Regions from separate parts of the Homo sapiens genome. Here region 2 is linked to region 1. Evidence: promoter capture Hi-C in 16 types of primary human blood cells and fetal thymus (Javierre and others, 2016). All regions are on one chromosome and are shown on one strand. The core of a region is centred on a gene start or on the middle of the fragment in contact, and the rest is flanking DNA. Distances in the headings are between cores, read along the strand shown.

Region 1 (5,310 bases), core at 1,111-3,610:
TCGGCTCACTGCAACCTCCACCTCCTGGGTTCAAGCGATCCTCCTGCCTCAGACTCAAGTAACTAGGATTGCAGACTCAAGACACCATGCCGGACTAATTTTTGTATTTTTATTTAACTTATTTATTTTTAATTTTTTGAGACAGAGTTTTGCTATTGTCGCCCACACTGGAGTTCAATGGCGCAATCTCGGCTCACTACAACCTTCACCTCCCAGGTTCAAGCAATTCTCCTGCCTCAGCCTCCTGAGAAGCTGGGATTACAGGTGCCCACCACCATGCCCAACTAATTTTTGTATTTTTAGTAGAGGTGGGGTGTCTCTATGTTGGCCAGGCTGGTCTTGAACTCCTGACCTCAGATGATCCGCCCACCTCAGCCTCCCAAAGTGCTGGGATTTACAGGCGTGAGCCACTGCATCTGGCCTATTTATTTTATTTATTTATTTATTTTGAGATGGAGTCTCCCTCTGTTGCCCAGGCTGGAGTGCAGTGGCACAATCTTGGCTTCCCAGGTTCAAGCAATTCTCCTGCCTCAGCCTCCCGAGTAGCTAAGATTACAGGTATGCGCCACCACGCCTGGCTAATTTTCTTTGTATTTTTTAGGAGAGACGGGGTTTTACCATGTTGGCCAAGCTGGTCTCAAACTCCTGATCTTGAGAATGATCCTCCCACCTTGGCCTCACAAAGTGCTGGGATTATAGGTGTGAGCCACCACATCCAAGCTCCACAATTTTTTTTGTTTGTTTGTTTTTTGAGACGGAGTCTCGCTCTGTCGCTCAGGCTGGAGTGCAATGGCGCAATATCTCGGCTCACTGCAACCTCCACCTCCTGGGTTCAAGCGATTCTCCTGCCTCAGCCTCCTGAGTAGCTGGAATTACAGGTGCGTGCTACCACGCCTGGCTAATTTTTGTATTTTTAGTAGAAATGGGGTTTCACCATGTTGTTCAGGATGGTCTCAAACTCCTGACCTCGTGATTCGTGTGCCTTGGCCTCCCAAAGTGCCGAGATTAGAGGCGTGAGCCACCACACCCAGCCTCAACAGGTGTTTTGAACGGCCAGAGTGGCCCTCAAGGAGGATACATGCCTCACTCCCACCGCAGCCACACGGCAAGCCTTCTTTCCCTGAGCCTCTGCCCTCTGCACCCCATCCCCCCATCTTCGCCTTACCACCTTTTATAATCCCTTTCGGTCTCAGTTTCCAAGGCAATTCCTCGAGGACCCTTTCACAATGCCAGCCTTTGCCAGGCTGTGGTGTGCTCACGCCATTCTTTTTCATCACTATTCCTAGCTTGAAATTATTGTGTAATTGCAATTTTTTTTTTTAAGACAGGGTCTCCCTCTGTTGCCCAGGCTGGAGTGCAGTGGCGTGATCATAGCTCAATGCTTCGTTGAACTCCTGGGCTCAAGCAATCCTCCTGCCTCAGCCTCCCAAATAGCTGGAACCATAGGCATGCGCCACAATGCCTGCCTAATTTTTATATTTCTTTGTAGAGATGAGGCCTCGCTATATTCCCCAGGCTGGTCTGGAACTCCTGGCTTCAAGTGATGCTCCAGCCTCAGCCTCCCAAAGCCGACTAGCCACCTTGCCAGCCTGTTTGTGATTATTTGATTGAAGTGTGTCACCCCTACTTCACCATGAGCTCAGGGCTCAAGGGGGACGGGGCTGGTGCCTGTTTTGTCCTGGACACCTGGGAACATCATAGGCACTTAGGAAATGTCTGTGGGATGATTGGTGCTGCTCCACAAGCTCGCCACCACCCATGAGGTGCAGGCATCGCAGAAAGGGCCTGGCAGGGGACAGACCATAGTGTCTTAAGCTCCCATAACCAGCCTAAGGAGGGAGGGAAGAAGGGAGGAGTGGCTGTGGCTCCAGATAATAAAAGCTGGGGCCAGGCCCTGGGGGGCATAACTGGCCTGAGATAACCTGAAAGACCTGAGGCGGAGGAGAGTCGTCACATTCCAGGGAGACTGCACACACACACAAACCACATGCACGTGCATGCACGCACACTCAGACACACACACTACACACACAGGGACACACACAGCCTACACATGTGCACATACAGCCTGTACATGCACACACACACACATACCACACCACATAAGAGGACACACACAGCCTACACAGGCATACACACACACCACATACACACTACACACCGGGACACACACACAAAAGGCCTATGCATGTGCACACACATACACACGGACACATACATGCACACACACGGGCCTGCAGCTCTGAAAGGACTCATGACTTTGGTGGCAAGAGGAGCTGGCGGAGCCCAGCCAGTGGGCGGGGCCAGGGGAGGGGCGGGCAGGTAGGTGCAGCCACTCCTGGGAGGACCCTGCGTGGCCAGACGGTGCTGGTGACTCGTCCACACTGCTCGCTTCGGATACTCCAGGCGTCTCCCGTTGCGGCCGCTCCCTGCCTTAGAGGCCAGCCTTGGACACTTGCTGCCCCTTTCCAGCCCGGATTCTGGGATCCTTCCCTCTGAGCCAACATCTGGGTCCTGCCTTCGACACCACCCCAAGGCTTCCTACCTTGCGTGCCTGGAGTCTGCCCCAGGGGCCCTTGTCCTGGGCCATGGCCCAGAAGGGGGTCCTGGGGCCTGGGCAGCTGGGGGCTGTGGCCATTCTGCTCTATCTTGGATTACTCCGGTCGGGGACAGGTAAGTGAGGACGTGGGGGCAGGGTGGGGACAATGCACTGGAGGGAGCCGGCGTGATCATTTTCTGGGGTGTGCCCTTGTCTGGGGCCCAAGAAAACCCCCGGCCTCCCTAGCTCTTGGCCTCTCTTTCCCACCTTGGCTCTGTCAGGGAAGGGGCCAGCCCTCTGGAGCAGTGGTGGGTACTAAGGGGTCAGGGAACCCGAGTCTTCCCTACTCACCCCTCCTCTTTCTCTTTCTTTCTAGGAGCGGAAGGGGCAGAAGGTGAGACTTTCCTCGGAGAGGGAGGAGGGGAGGGGGAGGTGACTTGGATCGGATTCCCCTGGGGTTTAACCAGTGCCTGGCCTTCAGCTGGGCTGCCTTCCAACTAGATTCTCTTAGGGCTCCCAGAGTGGGGGGTTTTAGCCCTCACCTTATGGGCAGAGAAGCAGGGACTTGCCCAGGGCACACTGCCAGTGAAGGTGCAGCTGGGATTCAGATCCACGTCTGACTCCCAAAGTGGGGCAATCGAGGTGGTTTTTTTGGTTTGGTTTTTGTCTTTTGAAACAGGGTCTGGGTCTGTCGTCACCCAGGCTGGAGTGCAGTGGCCCGATCGCAGCTCACTGCAGTCTCAGTGATCCAGCCTCCCGGGCTCACGTGATCCTCCCACCTCCCCACCTCAGCCTCCCTAGTGGCTGGGACTACAGGTGCATGCCATCACACCCAGCTAGTTGTGTTTTGTTTTTGTTTTTGTTTTTGTTTGGTAGAGATGTGGGTCTCACTATGTTGGCCGGGCAGGTCTTGAACTCCTGGGCTCAAGCGATCCTCCTGCCTTGGCCTCTCAAAGTGCTGGGATTACAGGTGTGAGCCACCGTTCCCATCCTGGAGGTGGTTTTGAGGGAACCAAACCAAGGGTCTCCTTTCTTGGAAGGCACCCAACCCAGCTCTGAGTCAGACCGGCTTTCAATCCTGGCTTCCCCATGCACTGGCTGTGTGTCATTGGCCAAGTCCCCCCACTTCTCTAAGCCTTAGACTCCTCACCTCTAAAATGAAGCTGGTCATGTCCGTCTCCTGGGGCTGTGGAGAGGATGCAGGGAGATGAGGAAGCGAAAGCCCCTCCAGGGCCTGGCACAGCCGCTAGGCTCTCTAAATAGTGGCTATTGTCATGATGATAAGGGAGAGAAAGATCTGGTCTGCAATTTTCTCTGCTCCTAGATGACTTTGTGAAGAGCAGTTGGGCTCCACTCCAAAGTGGCCTCAATGGGGGTGGGGCTGGGGCTGTCCTGGAAACTAGACATTCACATCACAGGAGCCCAGTTCTGCTGTTGGTTTGTTGAATATATGTCCACGACGCCACAGGCACTGCAGACATGAGAATCTGCCCCTAGGGAATGCCCAGATTGGTGTGGTGGAAACAGACACAGTTGTGGACTCCGGAACAATTGTGAGACTGGGCAGCATCGGGGAGCATGGTGGAGGTTGGGGGGTGCTGGGCTCGGAGGCAATGCCCAACTCAGCCAGCAGAAGCCCGCCTGTCTACGGAGGGGCTGCTGTTCCAATCAAGCATCCACAGGCAAAGGGAAGTTTGCCAGACAGTAAGGATGGGGAAGGGCATACCAGGTAGAGTGACCTGGATCAGCCAAGGTCCCGGGTAAACAAGTGTGTGGCCTGATGTACACAACTGAAGGGTCCAGAGGGGACGGCTGGGTCCGATGGCGGTGCCATGGTCTGTCTGGAATGTATCTTAAGGACCGCGTGGAGCCAAGAAGGGTTTAAGCAGGGCTGTGGCCTGGTCAGATTGGGGGTTTATGAAAATCTTCAGACTTGTAAGGGGCGGGATGGATGGAAGGCTTGCAAGGAGAGAAGCTGCCATGAGACCTGAATTAGGTAATGGGTAGTGGACAGAAGGGGCACAACTGCCCATGCCTGGGAGGGGACAAAGGGGTGTTGACTCCTGTGAACCCACTTCCCAAGCTCTATATCAGAGCTCCTGGGCTGCATAGGAGTGGCCAGGCTAACAACCTGACCCCTTCCCTTCCTCCCTGGGCAGCTCCCTGCGGTGTGGCCCCCCAAGCACGCATCACAGGTGGCAGCAGTGCAGTCGCCGGTCAGTGGCCCTGGCAGGTCAGCATCACCTATGAAGGCGTCCATGTGTGTGGTGGCTCTCTCGTGTCTGAGCAGTGGGTGCTGTCAGCTGCTCACTGCTTCCCCAGGTACCAAATGGTGAAAGTCAAAAGTGGGCTGGAGGTCAAAGTTAATGGGTCAATCCAGGTCAGAGGTTGGGGTTCTTGGGTTGGGTCTGAGAGTGTCAGTTCTAAGTCTGGAAGGACCAGTTAGGAGTGAAGGTGAGGGGTCAGAGGTTACATGATAAAACTAAGGTGCAATTTGAGACCTAAAAGGGGCTGATCGGAATCAGGGGTTGGCAGTGGGGGTTGGGGAACAAGGAGAGGTCTCCTGGGTCTCAGCCTTTGCCCCCTGCCTGCAGCGAGCACCACAAGGAAGCCTATGAGGTCAAGCTGGGGGCCCACCAGCTAGACTCCTACTCCGAGGACGCCAAGGTCAGCACCCTGAAGGACATCATCCCCCACCCCAGCTACCTCCAGGAGGGCTCCCAGGGCGACATTGCACTCCTCCAACTCAGCAGACCCATCACCTTCTCCCG
Region 2 (5,310 bases), core at 1,501-4,000, 110 kb before region 1:
GCCCGCAAAACATGGCTTTTCACCCCCTATCCCAAAACCTGTAGGAACTAATGATAATCCACCACCCTTTGCTGACTCTCTTTTCGGACTCAGCCCGCCTGCACCCAGGTGAAATAAACAGCCTTGTTGCTCACACGAAGCCCGTTTGGTGGTCTCTTCACATGGACACGTGAGACAACCCCAGCTACCCAGGAGGCTGAGGTGGGAGAATCACTTGAGCCCAGGAGATTGAGGCTGCAGTGAGCTGATTGCACCACCGCACTCCAGCTTGGGCAACACAGCGAGACCCTGTCTTAAAAAAAAAAAAAAGTAAGAAAAAAAAGTTCCACCTGAGTGTCATCCTCAGCCATCTGGTTAAGCCTTTGGGTCTGGAATCAGACTAAGGGCACTAAAATCCTAGGTCTACGCCGGGTGTGGTGGCTCACACCTGTAATCCCAGCACTTTGGGAGGCTGAGGCAGGTGGATCACCTGAAGTCAGAAGTTTGAAACCAGCCTGGACAATATAGCGAAACCCTGTCTCTACCAAAAATACAAAAATTAGCCGGGAATGGTGGCACATGCCTGTAATCCCAGCTACTCAGGAGGCTGAGGCAAGAAAATCACTTGAACCCAGGAGGCGGAGATTGCAATGAGCCAAGATCACACCACTGCCCTCCAGCCTGGGCAACAGAGCAAGATCTCATCTCAGAAAAAAAAAAAAAAAGAATAAAAATATCCTAGGTCTATAAGTATGCCCTTGAACAACTTACTCTCTGGACCTCACTGTCCTCATCTGGAAAATGGGGGCAATAATTGTACTAACATCTTGGGGTGATTGTGATAGTTAAATGAGATAATAATAGATGTCAAAGTGCATGTAGTCAACATTCGCTGTAATCATTCTACCAACTGTGTTGGGTTGATGGATGACCTGGCCAGCGCACCCTCGATGACACACAGAGGTAGGTGGCTGAAAGCTGCCTGTCGCTCAGTGGGAAGCATTCTGGATGCTTCCCTTGCCACCTCAGTTGTCCATGCAGCAGGCCAAATGTCTGGCAGGCCAAGGAAATTGTTCTACCACAGGCTTTGTGAGTCCCAGGTGTTTCGACCAAGGTCACACAAAGAGCATGGTTGGCCACAGGTGACTTGCAGGGCAGCGACAGCCATTTCACCATCTCTAAGTTCTTGCCTCCCAACCTTGAAAGGAGGAGTTGCTCAGGGCCTAACCTGAGCAGGGCAGGAAACAAAACTACTAATTCCTGGAATAGGCTACTTGGTACTCAGTAAATCTCATGTTCTACTTGTTCTGTTGTTTTTCCCCAAAAGGCCCTAACTGATGTGTGACTTAACAGAGTTTTTGTAAGGGTTAAATTAAATAATGCATGTGAAAAGCTTAGCACAGTGCCTGGCATGTAAGATGCGCCCCCACCGGCAAAGATGATTATTTGTATTGGTGGAGACTAAGGTTCAACTGTTGTAATAAGACCCAAAATCACAGAGGCTTAGCCCAGACAGTCCTGTGATGGCCCCAGCATCAGCATTTGGGGGTTACGGAGGCTCCATGGTGTTGGAGATCCAGGCTCCCTCCAGCAGGTTGCTCTGCCATCCTGAGGGTTTTGTCTTCATCCGCCTGGTCAAAGACGGCCCAGCGCCAAGTCCACCCTCGGGCTGACAGGAAGGATAAAAAGAAGTGGTGCCTGGCAGGGAGTGGTGGCTCACGCCTGTAATCCCAGCACTTTGGGAGGCCGAGGCAGGCGGATCACCTGAGGTCAGGAGTTCAAGACCAGCCTAACCAACATGGTGAAACCCCATCTCTACTAAAAATACAAAAATTAGCTGGGTGTGGTGGCACATGCCTGCAATCCCAGCAACTTGGGAGACTGAGGCAGGAGAATCGCTTGAACTCAGGAGGCAGAGGTTGCAGTGAGCCGAGCTCAAGCCACTGTACTCCATCCTGGGCAATAGAGTGAGACTTTGTCTCAAAAAAAAAAAAAAAAAAATTGAGGCCAGGCACGTTGGCTTATGTCTGTAATCCCAGCACTTTAGAAGGCCGAGGCAGGCAGATCACTTGAGCCCACGAGTTCAAGACCAGCGCAGCAACATGACACAACCTTGTCTCTATAAAAATTACAAAAAAAAATTAGCTGGGCATGGTAGCATGTGCCTGTGGTCCCTGCTACTTGGGAGGCTTAGGTGGGAGGATCACCTGAGCCTGGGAGGTCAAGGCTGCAGTGAGTCAAGATTGCACCACTTTACTCCAGCCTGGGTAACAGAGCAAGAATCTGTATCAAAAAAAAAAAAAGCCAGGCACAGTGGCTCACACCTGTAATCCCAGCATTTTGGGAGGCCGAAGTGGGTTCACATGAGGTCAGGAGTTCGAGACCAGCCTGGCAAACATGGTGAAACCCCGCCTTTACTAAAAATACAAAAATTAGCCAGCCATTGTGGCGGGCGCTTATAGTCCCAGCTCCTTGGGAGGCTGAGGCAGGAGAATCGCTTGAACCTGGAAGGTGGAGGTTGCAGTGAGCCAAGAGCATGCCACTGCACTCCAGCCTGGGTGACAGAGTGAGACTCTGTCTCATAACAAAGAAAAAAAATGGTGGGAAGGCCCCTTTCCTTTAAAGGTGAGACCAAATGTTGCACACATCATTTCCTTCACATCTCATTGGCCAGGACTTAGTCACATGGCCACACACAACTGCAGTGGTGACTGGAAAATGTGATGTTATCCTAAGTATCTGTGTGCTAATTAATGGGGTTGCATTACTAAAGGAAGAAGAGGAAAGCACATGGGGGCAACTAGCTCTCTCTGCCACATATCATTATCATTACTCTAAGCACGCTCTGGATGAAACATCTTGTACAATTTGACAAAGTAACTATGGTCCTTAGGCATCCTTGACCTGATATAAGTATCATTACTGTCACATTCAGCTCAGGGCCTCTCTATTCAGAGCTTTACAGGCCTTGGGGTTTGGGGAGAGGCTGCAGATTCAACAAGAGCTTTCCTCCAGAAAAGTTTTATGTGCCTTAAATAAAGTGGGAAATTGAGGGAGAGGGGGGCTTCCTGGTTCCACATGAAGGAATACAGAGGTTGGAGAAAGGGTGGAGGCAAAGCCCTGAGGGGAGGCAGGCATCTCTCACTCCAAGGGGCTCCTCAGCAGAGGAGAGAGCCATGGTTAAGCTAAATAGCAACCCCAGGAACACCTCAGCTGTACTTCAGCTACTGGGGACCACAAGCAAGAGATGGACCCAGCTTGGAGTCTAGAGAGAGTCAGGGCATTTCCAACCACATATGGGTACCAGTCATGTGGAACCCCTGCCATCCCTTCAATTCTTTCCTCTCAATCTCTCACCCTGGGGGAGCCACAAACAGAAGGAAGAGAAAAAGGAGGAGAAGTAAAAGGGTGGATCACACACCCTGGCCCCTCAAAGTCCCTAGAGCTAGCATTAAACTGTATATGGTGTGATGACTTGGAGATTATGCCCATCTTTCCACTAGACTCTTCATTCAACAGGTATTAACTATGTGCCAGGTGCTGCTCCAGGCTCAGGGAAATGGATGTGAACGAGAGAGGAAACCTCCCTACCTTTAAGGAGCTTACGTTCTTGGGGGGTGATAAACAATGGCTGCCTTGAGAGCAGTGACTATGTCCTGCTCATGGCTTTATCCCAGGACCCAGCACCTTATCTGGCTGGGGCTCACTGAGTGTTGCTTAGATGAACCACATCACAATTGAGTTTGTGTGGACACTTGTGGTTATCTCCCCAGCATCCAGTTTCCCCCTTCCCAGCGACTCTCAATTTCCACTTGGAGGACTACGTGGTTTGGGAAGAACTGACTTTGCCCCAGGTCTGAGGGTGGAGCATGTGAACTACACTAAGACAATCCAACTATTCTATCGCTCTGACATAAGTCGTTGGTTCAAGTGTGGGCATGTGTCTAATCAAAGTGGATCTCAGGACAAAGATGTTTTTTCTCCTCCTAGTGTGATGTAAAACCTGGAACCACTGCAGCTATTTTTGCTACTGTGGTGCTGGGATTACAGATGTGAGCCACTGCACCCGGCCAAAAATTTTTTTAAATTTAAGAAAAGAAATCAAGGGAGATAAGAAATGATTACTGTTGTTTTAAGCCTCTAAGCTTAGGGTCATTTGTCATGCAGTTTCAGATAATTATTAGGTGGGTGCAAATGTAACTAAAGTAATTAAAGTCATGGCCAAAACCGCAATTACGTTTGCATCAAACTAATAGTACAATTGACTATTGGGTGTGTCTGGAATACCATCCTTCTGCTTCTTTTTGTTTTCCTTAGAAACTCCTACTTGCTCTCCAAGGGCCAACTCAAGTTGTCACCTCTTCTGAGAAGCCTGCCCTAATTTTCCTGCTTAACCCCAAGCTCTGTTACACACAGCTCTATTAGCAGTCCTCACACTGTGATCTTATTGTTTATGAGGTTATTTCTCTCACTATAGCTTTTTGAAGGCAACAATTTTGAATTATCCAAATGCATACGCCTAAGACTGAGCATGGTATGTGCTACATTAAAAAGGAGTTTGATGAAGTTTGGTTGAATAAATAAATAATGGAAACTTCAGCTGTGGACAAGACAAAGAATGCTGGCGGGGTGCGGTGGCTCACGCCTGTAATCCCAGCACTTTGGGACGCCAAGGCGGGCGGATCACAAGATCAAGAGATCAAGACCATCCTGGCCAACATGGTGAAACCCCATCTCTACTAAAAAATACAAAAATTAGCCGGGCATGGTGGCGAGCACCTGTAGTCCCAGCTACTCGGGAGGCTGAGGCAGGAGAATCACTTGAACCCAGAAGGCGGAGGTTGCAGTGAGCTGAGATCATGTCACTGCACTCCAGCCTGGGGGACAAAGCAAGACTCCGTAAAAAAAAAAAAAAAAAAAGAGAGAGAGCGCGCACAAATTCAGATGTAGTTATAGACATGCAAATTAACTGGTTGATGTGAACGACACAGCTAATAAGGTAGCATTAATAGATGTATGTCATGCCTGTAGTGCCAGCTACTTGGAGGGTCAAGGGCAGGAGGATGGCTTGAGCTTAGGAGTTCAAGGCTGCAGTGAGCTATGATGTACTGCACTCCTGCACTCCAGCCTGGGCAACAGAGCAAGATCCTGTCTTTAAAAAAAAAGATGAATAGGCTGTGTGTGGGTGTGTGGTGGCTCACGCCTGTAATCCCAGCACTTTGGGAGGCCAGGGAGGATGGATCACTTGAGGCCAGGAGTTTGAGACCAGCCTGGCCAACATGGCAAAACCCCATCTCCACTAAAAATACAAAAATTAGCCAGGCATAGTAG

The links. Contacts are between HindIII fragments. The CHiCAGO score rates a contact against its expected background, and 5 or more counts as called.
Region 2: a contact is called between a fragment that was not itself captured here and the fragment with the promoter of PRSS8 in region 1, in 1 of 17 cell types (monocytes). The highest score is 7.7, in monocytes.

Annotation. Positions count from the first base shown.
Region 1 is chr16:31,132,777-31,138,086 of GRCh38, reverse strand. PRSS8 (serine protease 8) reads left to right here and starts at 2,360. Exons shown (of 6, transcript NM_002773.5): 1 at 2,360-2,673; 2 at 2,916-2,933; 3 at 4,699-4,861; 4 at 5,134-5,310. The coding sequence starts at 2,589. RefSeq lists enhancers at 3,299-4,245, 5,194-5,310. The HindIII fragment of the contact is 17,481 bases long and covers 1-5,310 here.
Region 2 is chr16:31,247,102-31,252,411 of GRCh38, reverse strand. No RefSeq gene overlaps it. Among named protein-coding and RNA genes, the nearest start is that of ITGAM, 10 kb to the left of the region's middle. The HindIII fragment of the contact is 2,752 bases long and covers 1,375-4,126 here.